3 separate regions of the Homo sapiens genome follow, and regions 2 and 3 are each linked to region 1. The links are contacts of gene promoters, found by promoter capture Hi-C in blood cells and fetal thymus (Javierre and others, 2016). All regions are on one chromosome and are shown on one strand. Each heading gives the region's core, a stretch centred on a gene start or on the middle of the fragment in contact. The rest is flanking DNA. Distances are from core to core; before and after follow the strand shown.

The links. Contacts are between HindIII fragments. The CHiCAGO score rates a contact against its expected background, and 5 or more counts as called.
Region 2: a fragment that was not itself captured here is called in contact with the fragment with the promoter of CD80 in region 1 in 1 of 17 cell types (total B cells); the score reaches 6.6 in total B cells.
Region 3: a contact is called between a fragment that was not itself captured here and the fragment with the promoter of CD80 in region 1, in 1 of 17 cell types (total B cells). The highest score is 5.5, in total B cells.

The regions. Positions count from the first base shown.
Region 1 is chr3:119,557,799-119,561,315 of GRCh38, forward strand. It overlaps CD80 (CD80 molecule), which reads right to left and starts at 1,816. Exons shown (of 7, transcript NM_005191.4): 1 at 1,642-1,816; 2 at 1-130. It overlaps LOC107986118 (a long non-coding RNA gene), which reads left to right and starts at 2,632. Exons shown (of 2, transcript XR_001740861.2): 1 at 2,632-2,947. RefSeq lists a silencer at 124-418 and enhancers at 124-418, 780-939, 1,210-1,269, 2,040-2,089. The HindIII fragment of the contact is 26,007 bases long and covers 1-2,722 here.
Region 2 is chr3:118,890,655-118,894,151 of GRCh38, forward strand. No RefSeq gene overlaps it. Among named protein-coding and RNA genes, the nearest start is that of IGSF11-AS1, 51 kb to the right of the region's middle. The HindIII fragment of the contact is 229 bases long and covers 1,300-1,528 here.
Region 3 is chr3:118,872,025-118,875,553 of GRCh38, forward strand. No RefSeq gene overlaps it. Among named protein-coding and RNA genes, the nearest start is that of IGSF11-AS1, 69 kb to the right of the region's middle. The HindIII fragment of the contact is 1,071 bases long and covers 1,002-2,072 here.

The DNA.
Region 1 (3,517 bases), core at 566-3,065:
GGTGCAAAACAGGCAGGGCTGATGACAATCCAATTGCTCACGTAGAAGACCCTCCAGTGATGTTTACAAAACACACAGAGATTGGAGGGTGTTCCTGGGTCTCCAAAGGTTGTGGATTTAGTTTCACAGCCTGAAAAAGGAACAAATAAAAGTCATTCAGGAAGGAAGGTGTGCCTACTTTGAGTTGCAAAACTCTCGAGTTGCCTGCTAAAATTAATTGGAGAGCTTAACCTAAGCAACCTCTAAAGCAGGGCGTGACCCTGAGGAAAAGCGAATGGAAATTCTGTGAGGGGACCAGTTCCAAGAACCAACCACAGCCCTTCCATGAAAAGGCTTTCTACTTAATAGGTGGGGTGAAGATTTGGTTAGAAACAGGAGAGCTCTAAGGACCCTCCATATCTGTTAGCCAACCTGCAAAAGTTCAAATCCTCTTCTGAACATACCAAGAAACATAGAGCAGACAGTAAGGGTGTATTTTGTCCAAGGCAGGACCTAAGTTATGAAACAACTTCTTTCTTGACATATTAACATAAGAAAACAAGTATCTCAATTCTTTAAACCCTCTACTCAAATAATATATCATAAAGGGGTATGAGATCTCAATAACCAGAAAAGTCTATCCATAAAAAGGGAGGGAAAAAAAGACACTGCAGACGTTACTTATCAAAATTATGTACTCCAGGGCCAGGCGTGGTGGCTCACGCCTGTAATCCCAGCACTTTGGGAGGCTGAGGTGGGCGGATTACTTGAGGCCAGGAGTTCCAGACCAGCCTGGCCAACATGGCAAAACCCCATTTCTACCAAAAATACAAAAATTAGCCAGGTGTGGTGGTGGGTGCCTGTAATCCCAGCCACTTGGGAGGCTGAGGCACGAGAATTGCTTGAATCCAGGAGGTGGAGGCTGCAGTGAGCCAAGATGATTGCAACACTGCACTCCAGCCTAGGCGACAGAGTGAGACTCCATCTCAAAAAAAAAAAAAAAAAAAATTATGTACTGTCATGTGAGGTGGCTAGGGATTAATTTTTCCAGTAAATATGTCAAAATTGAGAAATGAAAATAAACACTGTGCTCCACTGTCACCCCTTCAGGCTGCTACCAGGACACAGCCCCGTGCTGCTCAGAGAATGCTTGAGTGTCCTCTTTGGAGACCACCCTAGAGCTAGAGTTCCAGCCACGCCATATTGTTTTATTAGCCATCATCCATTTTAGACAGGATTAGTTAAAAGAGACTTATTCACCAGAATTTGTTTTTCTTAAGATAGAATCTTGCTCTGTCACACAGGCTAGAGTGCAGTGGCGTGACCATAGCTCACCACAGTCTCAACCTCCCGAGCTCAAGCGATTTTCCCACTTTCACTAGAATTTTACTGGCTTGAGAAATTCAAATACGGCCCACAAAAACAATATTTGCTAGGATCTAGGATATTTTAAAATAATGGGCCACAATTCTCACTATGATGCTCCAAATATGTCGGGAAGCCACAGCCTCCTGTGGGAATGAGACCCTAAGGGTTCCTTTGAGGGCAAGCCTGGATCCAGGAGGTGGTAGCAGAGGTATTGTTTGTTTAAAAAGCAGTGAGGTTGCTGGTAACTAGTTCTACCAAGCTATCCCATAGTAAGATAATAGTAAATGTACTTACTTGCTGAAGAAAAATTCCACTTTTTCTTTAAATCCTTTGATTTCAGGGTAAGACTCCACTTCTGAGATGTTCTCTTCTTACAGTCTATAAAGCAATGACAAATCACTTTTTCTTTGGGTAATCTTCAGAGAGGCGACATTTCCCCTTCTAACTTCTGTTACTTTACAGAGGGTTTGAGTTCACTCAGTACTTGTCAGTGCCAGGAGTTGGACAGGGTGTTTGAAGAAGCGCCCTCTGCTGCCGTCTTCTTCTAGTTGCTTTTGTAGAGGCTGTGGCTGGGGCAAATCACACAGCAGCCTCCCTCACCACCGTGCATGGACTAACAAACATGAAACACCACGAGCACCAGGCGGCCTAGGGGAGGAGAAGAATGGTGCCCGAGAAGAGTGAGGGGCATCTGGCTAGCCTTGCTGTGTGATGGGAGGCCAGCTTCATGGGCTGGCTGTTTCTGTGCTGGTCTCAAGTTTTGTTTTAGCACCCAGAGTTACTCCTGAGTCCCTGCAGGAATAAGCTGTCAACCTCATATGTAGGGGACACTTTTGGGAGAGTGCTCAGCTCACAGGACCACCCAACTCTACTCCCACCTCTGAATCCCACCATCTTCAGAGAGTGGGCTCCTGCCAGCCACGCTGGACAGTGAATTCTGGTCACCCTAGCCACAGTTGAGTGCGCCTCTGGTGGGATGAGGAAGACTTTAGTCATGCCCATCACTCCCATTTCCAACTAGGTTGCCACCCACCCCTGTGTGTCCCTTTGTAGGATTCTGGAGCCCCTGTGAGTGAGCAGCTGACCCATGCTGGACCAGTGTACTTGTTTGCACAGGTGGAACCTGACAGCACCTTGCATGGGTTGCAGTGAGCCGAGATCACAACACTACAATCCAGCTTGGGTAACAGAGCAAGACTCCATCTCAAAAAAAAAAAAAAAAAAAAGACGCCATCCTTCCCACACCAGCCAGAAAGAGAGCAAACCGTGTGGGTGAGAAATACTGACTACAGCGGCGGCTTCCTTCATCTCAGCAACAAGTTTGTGGCAGAGCTTAGTGGATACCACCCTATTCACCTGAGATTTGGAATACTGAAGCTTTGGAAATCATGAAGGCAGAACTTGCTATGAAAGGACTCCACTGCACTGTCTCCTTCTGTATTGGCAGAAGGGGCCTAGTGAGCACCCTTCTTCACCTGTGTCTTGTTCTGGTCTCAGATGCATATTTTGAATAGTTGCAAGGAATATGGATGTGACAATTCCTGCCTTACCTCTAGTAGATCAACATTACATTTTCAAGTAAAGGGAACATAGATTGGAGGTAAGTTCATGTTTTCTATTTTCTTGAACATTTATTCAGATCAAAGAAATGTTTTCACTGATTTTAGCCACTTCTACTTGATACATTATTACAATGCACTGGAAGTGATTTTTTTTCCAGGTATTTAAAGTAATAGAAAGTTATAGATGTCAACTTAAAAGAGCAAAGAAATACAGAGTTTTAGAAATTTATTTTCTTTTTTTTTTTTTAGATGAAGTCTTTCTCTGCCGCCCAGGCTGGAGTGCAGTGGTGCAATCTTGGCTCACTGCAACCTCCGCCTCCTGGGTTCAAGCAATTCTTCTGCCTCAGCCTCCTGAGTAGCTGGGACTACAGGCGTGTGCCACCATGCCAGGCTAATTTTTAAATTTTTAGTAGAGATGGGGTTTCACCATATTGGCCAGGCTGGTCTCAAACTCCTGACCTTGTGATCCACCCTCCTCGGCCTCCCAAAGTGCTGGGATTACAGGCATGAGCCACTGCACCCAGCCGAGTTTTAGAAATTTCATGAGGGACTACATGAATACAAATTTTGACGATCACAGACACCCTCAAATTTTAAGAATCCCAGTG
Region 2 (3,497 bases), core at 164-2,663, 670 kb before region 1:
AGCACAAACATTAGAAAATACTATATAGCAATTAGGAGCCAGGTTGCCTATATTTGAATCCAGGTCCCAGGTCTTCCCATATAAACTTAGGCTAGTTACTTATCACTTGTACCTCGGTGTTATTATCTGCAAAATGGGATAGTGTTTGTACCTATCTCATACAGTGGTTGTGAGGATTAAAATGATTTAATAGATGTAAAATGCTTAGAGCAGCACCTGACACATAGTTTCCTGTTACTCGATACTATTCAGAAGAGGAGAGCTCCAAGCTGGATCCACCCATGAAGCTGCTGGAAACAAGTCTGCTTAATAACAGATATTGTAAATACTGGACCACAGGCCACACAGACCCACAGGAATGTATAATTAAGCAGGATTTAACTTAAAAAAATTCATTGCCGACATATACAATCCAAGAGAGATACAAATAAGCATTTCTGGCTTCTCTTGAAGATTCAAGAGACCTGGCCATCCTGGACCCAAGTCCTACTGACCACTCTTGGTGGGAGCTGAGTAGCTGCTAACCTCTTTAGGCAGGGCATAAATCTCCAAGTCACCATGCTCCCCATCTGGCCCAGTTCTCTCATTTACTTTACCTTCACAGGCATTTCAGGTTGTGATCTCTATACTAAAGGGATTGGGGCTCAGAAATCACAGCCTCGCCTCTACTTACATCATAATACAGGATCAGCACTGTGAAGTTGGAGGGGTGAACACACCTTGATCTCTGGATGACTGAGAGAGGGGAGGTGAAGAAAAGAGTTACAACCTGGTTGTATGTGAGACTCAGGTCTTCTCTAATCTCTCCAGTAGAACTTCCGTTTTTCTCCTTATAAAATTCAAATACATGACTTAAAAAGTAAACCAGTAACAGCTACAATTTATCTATACCATTTTATATACATTATCTAATGGTATCCTCAGACCTATGATGTAGCAATTATAATCTCCATGTTATATCCCCAGAGAGGCTAAACAGCTTGCCTCAAGTCAGTAGGAAGTGACGGAGCTGGGACTCAAGTGCAGGCCCAGGGTAGCAAAAGGCATCCTTCTACGTAGAATTTCCTCCAAATTCACCATGTCTTCAAAGACCTCTGTGTTCCCCTCAAAACTTCTCGCCTACGGGAATTTCCTCAAACGCATCCTCCCCTAGCAATAGCTCTGACTGTAGAGCTGAAGGTGGTAAGGGAACTAGTGTTTTACACAAATTGCAAATGCCCTAGGAAAGTGATGAGAAAGAATTAAACGGCTGTGAGACCCCCCCGAGTGTGCAGAAATTAAGAGGAGAAAAACTCAAAAAGCTTGACCGCATGGAAAAAATTATTCTAATAGTCTTATAAGTCAGAGATGGTAATTTTATTAAATAATTTTTTTAATGGGCAAAGAATGACTAGAAAGAATAAAGAACTCTTGTCTATGCCAGGCCAAATTTGAGGCAGTACCAAGACCTTTACTATTTATTGGCTATCTTAATGGAAGGACAGTATATGGCAACAGATGAGCAATGCCCTTGGCTCTACATCTTACAAGCTTTATGACCTTGAGCAAGGTACTTAACCCATGAAAGCCTGTTCCTTCATCTGTAAAATTAGCATAATACAGTACTAAAATTGAAAGTGTTGAGGATTCTATGGGATATACACAAAGTGTCCAGTATGCTGTCTAGCATACAGTAGGTGCTCTATAAATGCTGATGTTCTCCCACCCTCTTAATTATCCTCAGCGATTTGAAATTGATAGTAATCAGAAGATAAGTGTGTTATTTTGGAACAAAATGTGAGGAAAAGGGAAATAGGAGAAAGTATTTGGGTAGACAATAATTACCGAGGCTTCTCCTTTCTCTTAAACAAAAAAATGTCCCAAATTGCTATTTTATATGCAGTAGCACTCAAATAGTACTTCTGGCAAAAAGAGTTGAAATACTGAGTAGGTGTAAATGACATAGCTATTGCCTAGAAATTTAAAGCTTCTGAACTACTACGAATAATGGCAAATATCAAGTGTTTACTATCACCAGACACCATGATATTCATCTTATGTGCATTATTTCATTTAGTACTCACAATCTCAAAGATAACTATTATATTGTTTCTATTTTGTAGATGAAACTGAGCCTTAGAGAATTTTGTAGTTTGTCCAATGTAATGGACAACTGAAGCTCATTCATATATATATATATACACACACACATACATATATATATATATATAGGCATACAATCTTGTCCAAGCCTCAAATGCAAAACTGCTGCAAATCTGATAAACTGAGGGAGCAACTGATGGATGATAGAGAAATATGGCTTCAATGTAAGTTATAATAAGCTAAATTATCTATTCTAATCTGACCTCCTAAAATTAATCAGGTATCAACTGACCTCACTGTGTTAAATACATAGTAGGCACTATACTTATTGCTTTGTTTAATAAACTTGTCTCTATCATTAATGTCTTATGATTAAGTCAGAATTTTGTGCCTTGCCTTTACCTAAAATAGGGAAATAATACCTTCTTCACAAGGAAGCTGTGAGGAAAAGCTATAAATAGCTGTATACACATAGAATTTACAAGTCAACTTTTCTCTGAATTGCATTTATTGTCTCAGCATTTTTTCTGTGAAGTTGAATATCATCTTACTTAACACAAGTGATTTGTCCAAAAGAGGGCTATTTGAAGGCAAAACGACGAGGATCCCAGATCTTTCTTTTTAGACATTGGTTCAGTCAGACAGAAATATCTACTGAGAAAAGCAACTGACAGATTACTGAATAGTCTGGGAAAAATGTTTAACCACCTCAGTTTCTGAACTTGTAAAATATGAGTGATGATAGCGTCCATGTAGAAGTGTGATAAAATTAAATAAATTAGTACTTGAAATGCATTTTTTCATGTACTGCCATGTAATAAGCATAACAGATATTTTCACACAAAACCCTTCATAATTACTTAAGATTCTTCCAAACCACTGCATTAAGAATGTTATCTCCACAGCTTTCCCAAACAATACTGCATCTCTAATATAACATCAAATGCCCCCAAGGAACTGGCACAATCATTTGCCACATGAGTAAATGACTCTGATGTGGCCTTGCTTTGGGAATATTCTAATATTTGACTGCTACTTTTAACACTGAAGTTAAGAGACCAAATCATATATTTTCAGTTTCATGAATTTAGCGCATCCTTCAAGCACTTTCTCTGAATACAGCAACGTGTTAAGTGTTGTGACCACAACCAAGATATAGAAGTAGTAGTCCCATATGCTTGAACTTGCATAAACATCCACTCATATACTTACACGACTTGCAACTACTTGCTCACAGATGTGGATCCCTCCTGCAATATGGACTTTTTGAGAATATGGCTGCAGTTACTTCTCTGTTTTTACCTTCAACACCCAGAACAATGTTTAGCACATAATTAAGGATCAAAAATGATTGTGGAATAACTCATTTTATAGTCCAGCAGGAGGGATCAATCATGTACACAAATACAGAAATA
Region 3 (3,529 bases), core at 287-2,786, 690 kb before region 1:
GTTAATGCTGGAATGAGTTAAGACTTTGTGGGACTATTGGGAAGCATAATTGGTTTTGAAATGTGAGAAGGACATGAGATTTGGGGGTGGGGATCAAGGGCAGAACGATATGGGTTAGCTCTGTGTTCCCACCCAAATCTCATGTCAAATTAGAATCCCCAGTGTTGGGGGAGGGGCCTGCTGGGAGGTGATTGGATCATGGGGCTGGATTTCCTCCTTGTTGTTCTCATGATAGTGGGTGAGTTCTCATGAGATCTGATGGTTTAAAAGTATGACACTTCCCCCCTTTCTCTCCTGCTCTGCCATAGGAAGATGTGCCTTGCTTCCCCTTCATCTTCCACCATGATTGTAAGTTTCCTGAAACCTCCCAGTCATGCTTTCTATACAGCCTGTGGAACTGTGAGTCAATTAAACCTCCTTTCTTCATAAATTACCCAGTCTCAGGTATTTCTTTAAAACAGTGTGAGAATTGACTAATAGCGTGTTTCCTTGGGATCAGATGATCAGGAACATAGGGAGTCATCAGACTTACTGAGAGAATGAAAAGAGGAAATGTTTCACCTATCTCCACATAAAGTGGAAGGAAGAGAATGTTTCACACATAGTAGATAGAAGGATAGACTGGGTGGGTGGCCTGCATGACCAATAACACATCAGATTAATTTGTTTTATAATCAGCAACTTCTAGTATATACTAATCAACTTTGATCACTAGAAGTGTTGATAAAAATAGTCTTGAGTTCAATTGAGTTCCAATATTCAGATTCACAAACTTTTTTCAGCATCTACTATGTGCCATGTGTGAGGCCTGGAAAAACACAAATAATTATGAAATAGTTACCACCTTCAAGAAGCAAATAATTACAAAATGGTTCCCATCTTCAAGGAGCATAGTCACAGGACAAAATTAATTTGAATATGATATGTATATCCTATGATAAGTATACATTATCTTATATAATCACAGAAGATTTATTTTCCTGTCTTGGGCAATCAAAAAAAGCTTCAGGAAAAGATATCTCCTAGGAAGAGATTTTTCTATTCTTCTGTGGTGGAGATTCCTATTTTCATCATATCCTTTCACCATGAAAGTTAGGTTTCTAAGATAAGCAACATAACTTTCCTGAAGTTTTGTCTCAGAGCTATTAAAATAGAGATGTTGAAAGAGTCAACAAAGCTGTAATGTGAATGTGAAGATCTACGGAAAACTGATGTTAGATTGTGAACTCCTGACATAAAATAATTTGGAGGATGACTACTAGACATCATTTCAAGCTGTGGTGACCTTATAAACTTATTGCCCAAATTAAGACACTCTGAGAGTAATTGAGGGACACTATTAATAATTCCTAGGCTACAAATATAAACTGAGACTAACCTGAGTGAGCTGGTAATAGGGTCACTCTAGTGTAAGGCCATATTTCCAGTCATCTGGGAAATAGTAAAGACTTCTAACAACATACTTTGTAATGACCACTGGTCTTCCATATCACATTGAGGTTAAACTGCTTGTGAGGGATTTTTGAATAATATTCTGAAACATAAGATTAATTTTTGGCCTTGAAATTAAGCAACTTTTAAATGTTAAGTGCTATTGTCTGAATGTTTTTCAGAATTCATATGTTGAAACTTAATCCCCATGGTGGTGTTGTTATGAGGTGGGGACTTTAGGAAGATGATTAGTCATTCCGGCTCTCCTCTCATAAACAGATTAGTGCCTTATAGAAGATCTGGAGGGAAGTGGCTTAGGGTCTTTTTGCCTTTTTGGCCCTGCAAATATGTGAGGACACAGCAAGAAGGCCCTCACCAGACACTGAATGCTGGTGCCTTTATCTTGAACTGCCCAGCCTCCAGAACTGTAAGAAATAAATTTCTATTGTTTATAAATTACCCAGTCTGTCGTATTTTGTTATTAGCAGCACAAATGGACTAAAACGATGAGACTAAGATCACATCTGAATGGACCATTACTTAGAACAGGATGTGACCAGAGAGGAGGGTCCAGGAGAGCACTCAGCACAGCCACAGGGGACAGGCACTGGGGAAACTGAATCAGCCACTAATGCCAACAAAGCTTCCTGATCTACAGCACTCCTAAATCTTAGCTCATGTAAATACTCACCAGTGGCTGAGAGAGAAAGAGGAGGAGGAGCACAGGTAAAATCGGAGGCTATCTCAATTGGTAGGCAGAGACAATTGAAAAAGAATACAGGATAGGTAAGACTCAACAAGTCAGGTCAGGAATCCAATATCTAGATGGTATTAAAGCCGAGCCACAGCCTTGAATTCTGCCTGGAGAGACCTAAATCACAAATTCAATTAGTGGTACTGTGGCACTGGGGGAATGCAATAGTCTTAAATACAATGTTGACTTTGCACACATTTTAAAATATGTATTTATAACAATGAGACATTTCAAATAATAGTGATAGTGGCTAGTGTGCATTGAATAATGTTTCAGTGACTGTTCTAAGTGCTTCACATCTTAAATGCTGTAAACTATTATCCTCATTTTGCACTTGAGAGACTGAAGTATTGAGATATGAGCTGTGAAGTCTTGGAGGACACGGGAAGCAATGCATTTACCATTGTTGCAATTTTGTCACTTAAAAGGTAGACTTGGACAGACAAGAAATACAGCTCTTTTAAGGCAATGCCATTTACTTAAGAAGCACATAATGAAGGATTTGAGATTATCCTAGAGAGTGTCTCAAAGGGTAATATTTTTTAAATTTTTCCAACAATAGTGAGAATTTCCTGTTCACTTACACAATGCTAAGTTTGGTGCATTATTATAAATGCCCACTTTAATTAATACAATAGTACAATGTAGTTCACCTAGAATTAATGGATGAGGTAGGAAGCAAACTTGCTCCTATTTCTCAAAGAGGTGTGGAGAGAGACAGAAGTTAGGGAAAACTTTCTAATAAAAAATCAGCTGTTGAAATCAAAGAAGCTTTAGCATGAACCAAATTGCTAAGAACCAATGGCAAATTAGAAGAGGTTAACTAGGTGCTGGGATCCTAAAAAGAGATCTACCATCCAGAAACTCAGACTGGAATTTGATAACCTTCTGAGAAACATCAGATTATTGTTAAAGCACGTTCCAATAAACTAGAGCTCCTATTTGGCTCAGGATGAATGTTTTTAATTTTGAATACTGCTCTGAATTGCTTATCATGAAAATGTTTAATAATGCAATGTGGCTACAATGTAGGAAGCATTGTAAAGAGAGGCAGAAGGTGAATAATTGGGTAAAACAATCTCAATTTAAAATGAGCAGGGCAGCTGGTTCATAAAAGAAATACTGTGCACATGAGTGGAAGAAAATAGCTGGTGAAAAACAAAGAGAATCAAAAATAGTGTAACACAGAGAAAATGAACTGCAGTTCCTTTCTCTTTTAAGTCCTAAATAGAAAGCCATGTGATGTAAGCAGTGGGTTTCTATATTACCCAGAATCCCAAACAACAACTAAAGATCTAAAGATGTGCTTTTGGCAGTAGAGTTGGAGAAAAGAATAGATTCCAG